2 separate regions of the Homo sapiens genome follow, and region 2 is linked to region 1. Evidence: promoter capture Hi-C in 16 types of primary human blood cells and fetal thymus (Javierre and others, 2016). All regions are on one chromosome and are shown on one strand. Each heading gives the region's core, a stretch centred on a gene start or on the middle of the fragment in contact. The rest is flanking DNA. Distances are from core to core; before and after follow the strand shown. Region 1 holds the start of GLRX2 (glutaredoxin 2). Region 2 overlaps LOC107985242 (a long non-coding RNA gene).

Region 1 (4,853 bases), core at 1,959-4,458:
TCTGCCTTCAAATCAATACTGTATTCATTCATTGGGGGTGCATTTAAAATTTAAATGTTCTTAAATGTAAACATAAAGCTACTTTTTATGTTTTGTTTAATTTTTGCAATAGTCCCAAGCAGAATTTTTTAAACTGGATAGCATGAAATATTAGTCTTCTTTTTGAGATGGAGTCTTGCTCTGTCACCGAGCCTGGAGTGCAGTGGCGTGATCTTGGCTCACTGCAATCTCCGCTTCCCAGGTTCAAACAATTCTCCTGCCTCAGACTCCCGAGTCACTGACACTACAGGTATGTACCACCACACCTGGCTAATTTTTTGTATTTTTAGTAGAGATGGGGTTTCACCATGTTGACCATGCTGGTCTCGAACTCCTGACCTCATATGATCAACCTACCTCGGCCTCCCAAAGTGCTGGGATTACAGGTGTAAGCCACCGCGCCTGGCCTGAAATACTAGTCTTATTTTAAGTGAATCCACTCTAATAGCTTTTTCCAGTACATCTTATCCTTGGATAATGAACATCTGCCCTACACAGTAGTCCCCCTTTATCCACGGTTTCAGTTATCCAAGGTCAGCTGTGGTCCAAAAACATTACATGGAAAATTTCAGAAGAAAATAGTTCGTAAGTTTTAAGTAGCATGATGAAATCTTGAGCCATCTAGCTTCCTCCTACCCAGGGTATGAATCCTCCCTTTGTCCAGCATATGGACTCTGTATAAGCTCCCCACGCTTTAGTCAACAGCTGTCTTGGTGACCAGATCGACTGTCACAGTGTGGTGATGCTTGTGTTCAAGTAACCCTTATTTTACTTAATAATGGCTCCAACAAGAGTGAAACTCCGTCTTAAATAATAATAATAATAATGGCTCCAAACCACTAGAGTAGTGATGCTGGCAATTCAGGTACGTCAAAGAGAAGCCCTAAAGTGCTTCCTTTAAGTGAAACGGTGAAAGTTCTCCACCTAATAGGAAAAAAAAAATCACACGCTGAGGTTGCTAAGGTCTATGGTAAGAACGGATCTTCTATCAGTGCAGTTGTAAAGAAGTAAAAAATTCATGGCAGTTTTGATGTCACACCTCAAACTGCAAGTTACAGCCACAAGGTATAAGTGCTTAGTTAAGCCAGAAAAGGTATTAAATTTGTGGAGACAAGAACAGAAAAAGTGTTCCAACTGACAGCAATGTGTTATGCCAAAAAGCACTGGGCCTATGAGAAGATTCAGCAAGGGATTCCTTGAAATGAGCATTTTGTTATTAAAGTGATTGTTCTTTTATTATTGTTGTTAATCTCTTACTCTGCCTAATTTATAAATTAAACTTTATCATAGGCAAGTATGTATAGGAAAATAGCATGTATAGGGTTCAGTACTATCCGAGGTTTTAGGCATCCACCGAGGGTCTTGGAACGTGTCCACCACGGATAAGGGGGAACGATTATGATATCAGCTCACCTAGAGTGAGGAAGCTACAGCAAACATCAGTTTGTTCAGTTATAACAAAGAAGAGTAAGAGACAGGAATTAAACATTATAACATTATAACCTACCCAATGTTTACAATCTATTATTCCTTGCTTCCTAATAGTATTAGCAAGGAACACTTTAAAACAAAAAAAAAAGTCCTGTGCGCTTAACTCAGGAAGGAGTTAAGGGTAGCGAGCTAGGGAGACTGCAGCCAACCTGAGAGGAGGGTGAAGCTTTAAGATAAAAGAAAGTTGAGTTCCTGAAGCCTAAACCAGAAAAGGTTAGGCAGCACTGGCCTAGCCCTAAGGAAGAGCATTGGTGGAATAAATCAGCAAGCTGTATTTGGTTTATCAACTAAGAAAGCAAGTCCTTTCATCTCAGGTCCAGCACTTAAACTGTCATACCCAAACCATCTACTACAGCATTTACTACTGAAGGAGCTCCAATAGAACACAAGAGAATGTTTTCTTGGGTAGTGAGAGGAGGTAGGAGGTGCATTCTGAAATATTACCCAAATAAAAGTTTCTGGAAGACACCCTTTCCCTTCAATTTCTAGTTGACCTTGGTAAAAACTGTCGCGAACTATGAATAGAAACATGCACGGAGGAAGTAAGTGCACAATAAACATTTCATTTCAACACAGATGAAGCACCTAGTCATGCCACATTTATGGAGCGCCTACTGTGTGCTAAGTAGGCAAAGTGCTATATTGACCCCAGGGATACGCAGAAAAAAACACGGCGGGGCCTCAAAGAGCTGTCAAACACTTAACAGCCTGTGATTAGCCCTTCAGGAGGGGTCTCTAGCTTGGTCTGGAAAGTTAAACTTGAGATTCCTAGAATCTTGCAAAACTGATAGAAGCTCCCAGATCAAGTAGATAGCGAGACAGACTCTCCGGCCAAGTGCGCAGTGGCAGGCGCGGAAGTGCGAGCCGGCAGGACCGCCAGGCACCAGCCGCGCGGGCGTGGGCAGCACAGCCGCAGTTCCCTTCCACTGCAGGTCCCGAAGCCGCTGATATTCCAAACGAGGAAGTGTAAGGAAAGCACTATCCTCGGTCTAGCCGCAGGCGGCATCACCATCAGTCAGCCTCTATCCTAAAAGCTCTGGCCATTCAGCGGGAATCATCGCCTTCACTTCCTGCAGTAGGGTGGCTAAGTTTAGCAAACAAGAATGCAGGACGCCCGGTCAAATTAGAATTGTAACCAAACACCAGAAAACTGTTCCGTTTTTCCTATGTCCACTGCAGTATTTGGGACACACTTGGACTAAGAATCATTCGCTCTTTCAGAGAAATTCCAATTGATTGCGGCGTCTTGTATTTTATGTAGCAATTCACAGAGGGATGGCCTAAGTGAACATGAGTGAAGTATTTTCAACGCGAGAGTCACAGGCTCCTGAAGTCAGCACAGCCGCGGAGGGCACCCTTCCCTGCCCATCCCTCGAGCGCCTCTGCGTGTTATGACTCAGAGCCCACGCGCTAGTACGCCTCGCCCACCCGGCGCCGGGGCAAAGGGGCACCTCCGCCCACCGCTTTCTCCAGACCCCCGCAAGGCCTGCGCACCACGCCGCGGCACTCCTGCCCGCTGACCCCGTACCCAGAGGCCGCAGCTGCCGCAGCTCCCGCAGCTCCCGCCGCCCTGTCAAGCCAGCCTGCCGAGCCGCTCCTGCTCCAAACCAGCCGCGTCCCCGCCAGCGCCGCGCGGCGCCAAATCATGGTCAGAGCCCGGATCTGCAGCGAGCTCTACTGCCGGACACCGCGGATCCCGGGAGCCCGCCTCCTCCGGCCCGGCCCCCGCCTTGCCCCGCCCCGTCCCGCCCCTCCGGACTGCCCGCGCCGCCGCCGGTCACCTCCTCGCAGCTGAGCGCGTCCTCCCAGGGCTGCCCGAGCGCTGGATTCCAGCGAGTGCCACCCACGTGTAAACATCCTTTAGAGGGGAGAAGCGGCTCACTTGCTTATCTCGAGGGTTCATCCGAGCCCCGCCTCTGGATTCTTTTAGGTTTAGGGACGCTCATAAAGGCTCCCAGGCACTTGGAAGCAGTGCATGAGGATGGTGGCAGACATGCTGGGGAAACGGAGGAGAAAAAACATGACCATCCAAAACAGAATCAAAGTGGTGCCTCAGATGTTTCCAACTACCTGTTACACAAGTTTTTGTGTGGATGAAATAAGAGCCTAAATATATCCTCTTATAATTAGGCAATTGGTCGAGACCCAATGTAAATTATGGGGATATTGGGGTTTACATCCATAATTAAAAGAAAAAATCCGGTGTTGAAGGTTTACTCCAAAGAAGACAAAGATTATTTCCCACCACCTGCCAAAAAAAAAAAATTAGGAAACAAAACAAAAGAAATTAGCACAGAGATGTTTCACCATGGCTTTGGAAATGGGCGATTGCTGTTGACAGGATTATTTAAGCCACTCAGTGGTGGTAATAATAGCCTTTGTGCGTCACTATTTAAGGTTGGGGGTAAGCCTTTATTTACTGAGGACACTGAAATTCATCTTAAAGTCAAAGGTCAAATGGTACATCTAAAATTCTAAACAATTATTACAACAATCCAGAGCTTTTTTGATTCTTCATGTTCAACTAAGTGTAAAATTCATGTTACCAAAGTACAAAATAAGAACTTGTATTTCTGACAGTTCTTTTCCAACATTCAAATGGGCTATGTTTGATTACTTAATAAAAGGATGGAAGTTAGTTGCAAAAATAAATACCCCCAAAGGGTAGGAATTCATTCTTTTTAAAGACAAATTTGACTTTGAAAATTAAGGCATGTGGCCAGGCGCGATGGCCTGTCCTGTAATGTGGCCATTACAGGACTGCCCGCTGACCCCGTACCCAGAGGCCGCAGCTGCCGCAGCTCCCGCAGTGGCCAGTCCTGTAATCCCAGCACTTTAGGAAGCCGAGGCGGGCGGGTCACCTGAGGTTGGGGGTTCAAGACCAGCCCCTCCAATATTGGTGAAACGCCGTCTCTACTAAAAATACAAAATTAGCCGGGCGTGGTGGCGCATGCCCGTAATCCCAGCTACTCGGGAGGCTGAGGCAGGAGAATCGCTTGAATCCATGAGGCAGAGTTTGCAGTGAGCCAAGATCACACGATTGCACTCCAGCCTGGGCAACAAGAGCAAAACTCCGTCTCATAAAAAAATAAATAAATAAAATAAAATAAAAATTAAGGTATGTTATCTATCTATAGTGTTGTGGGCTTTTTAATTTTTTTATAAAACTATTTTGGAAATTTATGGTGTTATGTTAGTTTTGAAGTCAAATTTTACCTCATCTCAAATTGTTTTATGAAATAAAGATCATTATGAGGTGAACCGATCATGTTACAATTTAATTTTAATACAGCATAGATGGACTATTATCAAGCACAGAATTC
Region 2 (5,241 bases), core at 2,678-5,177, 1.2 Mb after region 1:
CCATAGACATAGTCAGACTTTCAATTCTGCTGATTTGATTGCATCAATTCCCTGATGCAATGTACAGGGAGCATTGCATCAGAATTGTGTATCTATATGTCACACTCTGGATGCTAGACTTGACTTGCTAGTGGTCTATCAGCCTCCATGATGGAATAAAGTCACCCTGCATAGCAGGCTCTTCCCAAGTTTACATACAGAAAGCAGGCTAACATCCATCCCTGTGCTCTCAGTTTTCCTTTCAGCCTTTGAACCCACTTCAGACTCTCAGTCCTCCAGGGATCAGCACACATATATCTCATGAGCTTGACCCTTTCTCCCTTCACAGTATCCTCTGGGACTATAAATTATTGGCTTTTTTATTTCTTTCTCTTATGATTGGGGCTTTTAATATTTCATATTAAATTGAATTCTTACTCAGCTTAACATCCTGGATTTATTAAATTTATATGACCTAATCAACAAAAAGTTTCTTTATATGTCAATGGAAAGTGAAAGTTTTAAAATCTTCTGAATATGCTTGGTTTTCAAAACAATTGTCATGAGATGATACTCTAGCAATCCAAAGGTGAACCTATTTTTTTTTTACTTCTTTCTTTTTGTAGTCCTCCTGTAAATCCTATTTATCCCTGAAGCAAATAGTTGCCTCTGGCCGACTAAAGAATAATCCCAAACAAAGGGAACCTAAAATATAAAAGTAAATATTTTTCAAAAAATATGATCTTCATTATGTAGTCCTGACAAATAAATGACAAAACAAAGCAAAGGATTATAAGTGTCAAAAGAGAAAGCAATCTAACTGGGGAAAGCAGTCAGAGAAAGATTAACAGCCCTACGAGTTTATGGTTTAAGTGATTGAAGACTGAAAATTTTAGCCTTCCTGTTGTTATTGTTGAAGGGGTCCCATTAGCCTGCTGAAGATAAAGTGTGTGTAAAGACAGTTGGTGAGCAATAGGAAAATCATATTTCAACCATATGTCCATGATGCACACAGCCTGGCTTGTACATCCCTGAGCCTGAATCTTGAGCATGGGTCTTCTTTGCTCAGGCGTTGTCACATGGAAGTATTTAACCTGTGGAATGAGCCCTTTTCAGGCTCCCTTTATTTTCCTGCATATACTTATCATTCTGGTTGTTCATATTCCTTTAACTTCTCCATTCCTTTAGTAGTTCCTCTTTCCTTCTTCTGTTTCTAGTCTAGGAACCTTTCTCTAACCCACTCTTTAGGCTTGTAAATATTCCAAAATCCATGGTTGGGATATTTTTTACCTGATTCCACTGCTGGATAAAGGGTGAAGTAAGCTTCAGTTTCTAAGCACAGAGAAACATAGAAAAGCGCCCATCTTGTCGTATTTCTGAGTGTAAAATGAACTCATTTCTGTATTTAAAAATAAAATCTGTATCTCTAAAGCTGCAAGAATAATTTTCTGCTGATTCTCAATTTTTTGGTAGAGGGTTGTAAATCTGGGCCAGGGGCATCATTTTGTTAAAATTTAATTTTATTGAACTTTGACAAATTATACTTGTAGATATTTATGAGATACAAAGTGATCCAATAATACGTATAAGTGTGGAATGTTGAGTCTAAGTAACATATCCACCATCTCAAATACTTATCATTTATTCCTCCAAGTATACACACACATACACACACACAAACACACACACACACAATGGTGAAACCCCGTCTCTACTAAAAATACAAAAATTAGCCGAGTGTAGTGGTGCACACCTGTAATCCCAGCTAGTCAGGAGGCTGAGGCAGGAGAATCTCTTGAACCCAGGAGATGAAGGTCGCAGTGAGCCGAGATCACACCACTGCACTCCGGCCTGGACTACAGAGCGAGATTCCGGAAAAAAAAAAAAAAAAAAAAAAAGACAGATATTCTGTCATTTGCAGAAGCATGGATGAATCTAGAGGACATTATGCTAAGTAAAATAAGCCAGGCACAGAAAGAAAAATACATATTCTTTCTTAAATGTGGAATCTAAAATAATTGAATTCATAGAGGTAGAGAGCACAATGACGGTTATGAGAAGATGAGAGGTGGGGGAAATGGGAAGATGGTCAATGGGAGTAACTTATCCTGAAATACAAATCAACCATTCCATCTGTGATTAGAAAGATTATCCCAATACAAAAGAAATGAGTGTCAGTTCCAATGCAATTTACTTTGCTCTCCATGAGATCTGGTCATCAGGATGCTTAAAACTATCTCCAGCCCAGTGGTAAACCCTGACCATATTCAGGGTATACGTATACCCTGCCAACCATGAGGAGTAACATGAGAAGAAATCAATCTCTCTTGCTTTCTCATTTCATTACCAACTGCCAAGCTCTCCTCTGTGCCATATTTCCCTTAGACTTTGTCCTTCATTGTCATGTCCCTATGACTAAGTTTCCTTCTAGGATTGAGCTCCTGCCAACTTTTATTAGTTTCCCTCCAAGTTACCAGAATGCATACCTTCTGCCTAAGTATAGAACATTTTCAACAAATATGCCTGATAGCCATTGCTTCCCAGGTTTGTTTTATCATCTACCCAATAATGTTTGTTTGTTTCTGTTGTTGTTGTTTTCTGATTTGAACAAACTATTGCTGTTTATTTGGAATGAGGACCTAGGTTGCTGACTCATTCGCTATGGTATCTATACTTCATTCTGAATATATAACATTCGTACTTGTAAATAGATCTCTACTCCAAATGGCAGTTCAATCTTAGGGACTGGATCCAGAACAGCACCTAGACCTAAGCTTATTTATTTGAACATTTCCTATCATGAGCCATATGTCAGAAATTTTAGTTTAGGAAGCTGTGGTAGCTGAATGCTTTCCTGTAGCCCAGGACTATTATTCTCTAGAACTTGGCTGAGCATGAGAAGAAAAATAGAACAAGCAGATGGGCTTTGCCTTCGGGTATGGCAGCACACTTCATTCTTTAGAGTATAAGCTTGCTGCTCATGACACTACGGCAGAGCAGAGCCTAAGAGGCCACATAGAGATGAAAATTGCTGCCTTGGCCTCATTATTCAAAGTCTCACTACCCAGAATACAAGCTTAGAAAGGATTCTTCACTATTTTATTCCTATTCTTGCCTGTCAGGAGATATTGTTGAGCCTGTACACCATGTGAAACATCATTTAAAGTTCTATGGAGGATATATGAAAATATTTGGAAAACAGAACCACTCTCAACCCCCACAAAAAAAAACTGAAAAAAGAAATAAAATGTTTATTTTTTCTATGCAAAGCAAATATGAAGTCTCCCCTCTCATTCAACAGTATTTCTGCCTCAAAAAATAAATAAAACATAATCAAAACACTTTAAATTCACTCTAACATGTAACAAAACTGTCACTGGAGATCTCCTGATTTGAGAAATCATAGGGTCTGCAAAACCACAGACTAAATATAATGCTAGACATTTATGTAAAATATTTCAGCAACAATATGAGTTGTATTATTAGGATGAACAATGATGGCCTTATGGTTAAATAAGCATATCTGAATACCTTATTTCTCAAACACACTGAAAATATGGGTTCTGCAAATGGTATCCCTCTTTCTCCCTAAACCTAGAGCAGTGCCCAAGAGAACAGAATACAGGGCCAAGTTTTATGTATTTAAATTCTGTTCTCCCACTTAAAGGTTCTGTTACTATAAAAAAAAAAAACGCAGTACTTGTTCTATGCTTCAGTTACCTTCTATATCATAACAAGATAATGATTGCATCTATTCAAGGAGTTACCAAGAAAATAAAACAAATTTATATAAGAAAACATGAAGGCTAGTGTCTGCCAAATATTAAGTACTTAATGAGTTATTATTATCATAACTCTCTCTATATTAATCAATAAATATTCATTTAAACATGAAGCCATACCAGAGGTTATGTAGTGGGTTAATAACTGTATCGCTTTCCTATCCATAAGGGAGTCCTTGAGAAACAGCAGTTTGAGGGAGTGAAGAGTAGAAGAAGATACTAAAATTAGAGAGAAAGGCTAATATTTAATTAACACTTAAAATGTGTCAGAACTTCTGCATGCATTATCTGATTTTGCCCTCAAACCAACTCTTGTAACTAGCCCAGGTCTGCACAACCAGGAATGGCAGAACAGAAATTAGAACAAGTTCTTCTCTTATCAATGAATATGATGCTCTTGAGGAAAAGCAAGAGGAGACAGAAAGAAATCCGGTATTTTAAACATAGGATTATATAGCCAAAACTAATTTACCAAGTTTATTATACAATTGCTCAAAGTTTCGCTTTGCCCATATAGGCATTATCTACCCTTTTAATTCTCCCCATTGTTGATAAAACCATAAGTTGAATCAAAAAGAACCTCACTGTTTGAATATTATTTAGTACGTCAATGTTTTATTTTGTATATTGGTAAATTATTTGGTTATTTTCTGTTTCTAATAGTTTTTAAATAATTTTGAATTATAGAATGTGGTCTATTAATATAGAATTTTTAAAATACATTTTGTGTATTGACCTTTTAAAACAAGAGGAGGCTTCCTTAAAGTGTCTTTTCACTGTTGTTAAATATACCAGCACATAAAATGTTAATGGAAATACTGCCTTTTAATGTTAGGTAGTGACCTTTATTATAAATGAATTTATCTCTAGAGTATATTTTTCAAAGTTAAAAGAAACCAATTAAAATGTTCTAACACTGAAGAAGCAATAAACCTCAAAAAATATCTGAATATGGAATATAGTTCTTAATTTACTGTCTCTTCACATGCAACATACCCAGAAGGTGTGCTATTGACTTACTATTGTGTTTCTTGATAAGAAGCTTATAAAGTGTCTGCTTAACTTTTCCTTTTCAAATTAACAAGATAATACGAGCATGTAGGTAAGCCATTGGCAAGGGCTAGAGGATAGCCATTTAAAAACAGAAAATATATATTATTGTGTTTTTATCACAATTTTCCTGGCTCAGAAATGAAAAAAAAAAAAAAAACCTTAGACTTGGCCCAGTATGTAAATGATGCAGGAAGCCATGTCCCCTGTCTATCTCTCCAACCACATCTGCTTCTGTTCTCTAATATGCATATATTCTTACAGTACCATCTTCAGGGATTTCTTTGACTTTTATATGCCAGCTTCTTGCTTAGGATGTTTTTTCTTTCTCTCTTACACAATTGATAAATGCCTATTCATTCTTTAATATCATTTATTCATTCAAAAATTTATTGAGCACTATGTGATAGGAACTATTTTTAAGTTCTGG

What was found. The method cuts DNA at HindIII sites, captures the fragments that hold promoters and counts their contacts. A CHiCAGO score of 5 or more calls a contact.
Region 2: a contact is called between a fragment that was not itself captured here and the fragment with the promoter of GLRX2 in region 1, in 4 of 17 cell types (total CD4 T cells, total CD8 T cells, naive CD8 T cells and 1 more). The highest score is 7.0, in total CD4 T cells.

Annotation. Positions count from the first base shown.
Region 1 is chr1:193,102,206-193,107,058 of GRCh38, forward strand. GLRX2 (glutaredoxin 2) reads right to left here and starts at 3,209. Exons shown (of 4, transcript NM_197962.3): 1 at 3,059-3,209. The coding sequence starts at 3,177. RefSeq lists silencers at 2,998-3,097, 3,074-3,368, 3,148-3,387. The HindIII fragment of the contact is 5,966 bases long and covers 1,695-4,853 here.
Region 2 is chr1:194,298,175-194,303,415 of GRCh38, forward strand. The region is part of intron 2 of LOC107985242 (a long non-coding RNA gene); the gene reads right to left. It overlaps LOC105371670 (a long non-coding RNA gene), which reads right to left and starts at 1,772. Exons shown (of 3, transcript XR_922390.2): 1 at 1,733-1,772. The HindIII fragment of the contact is 1,748 bases long and covers 3,054-4,801 here.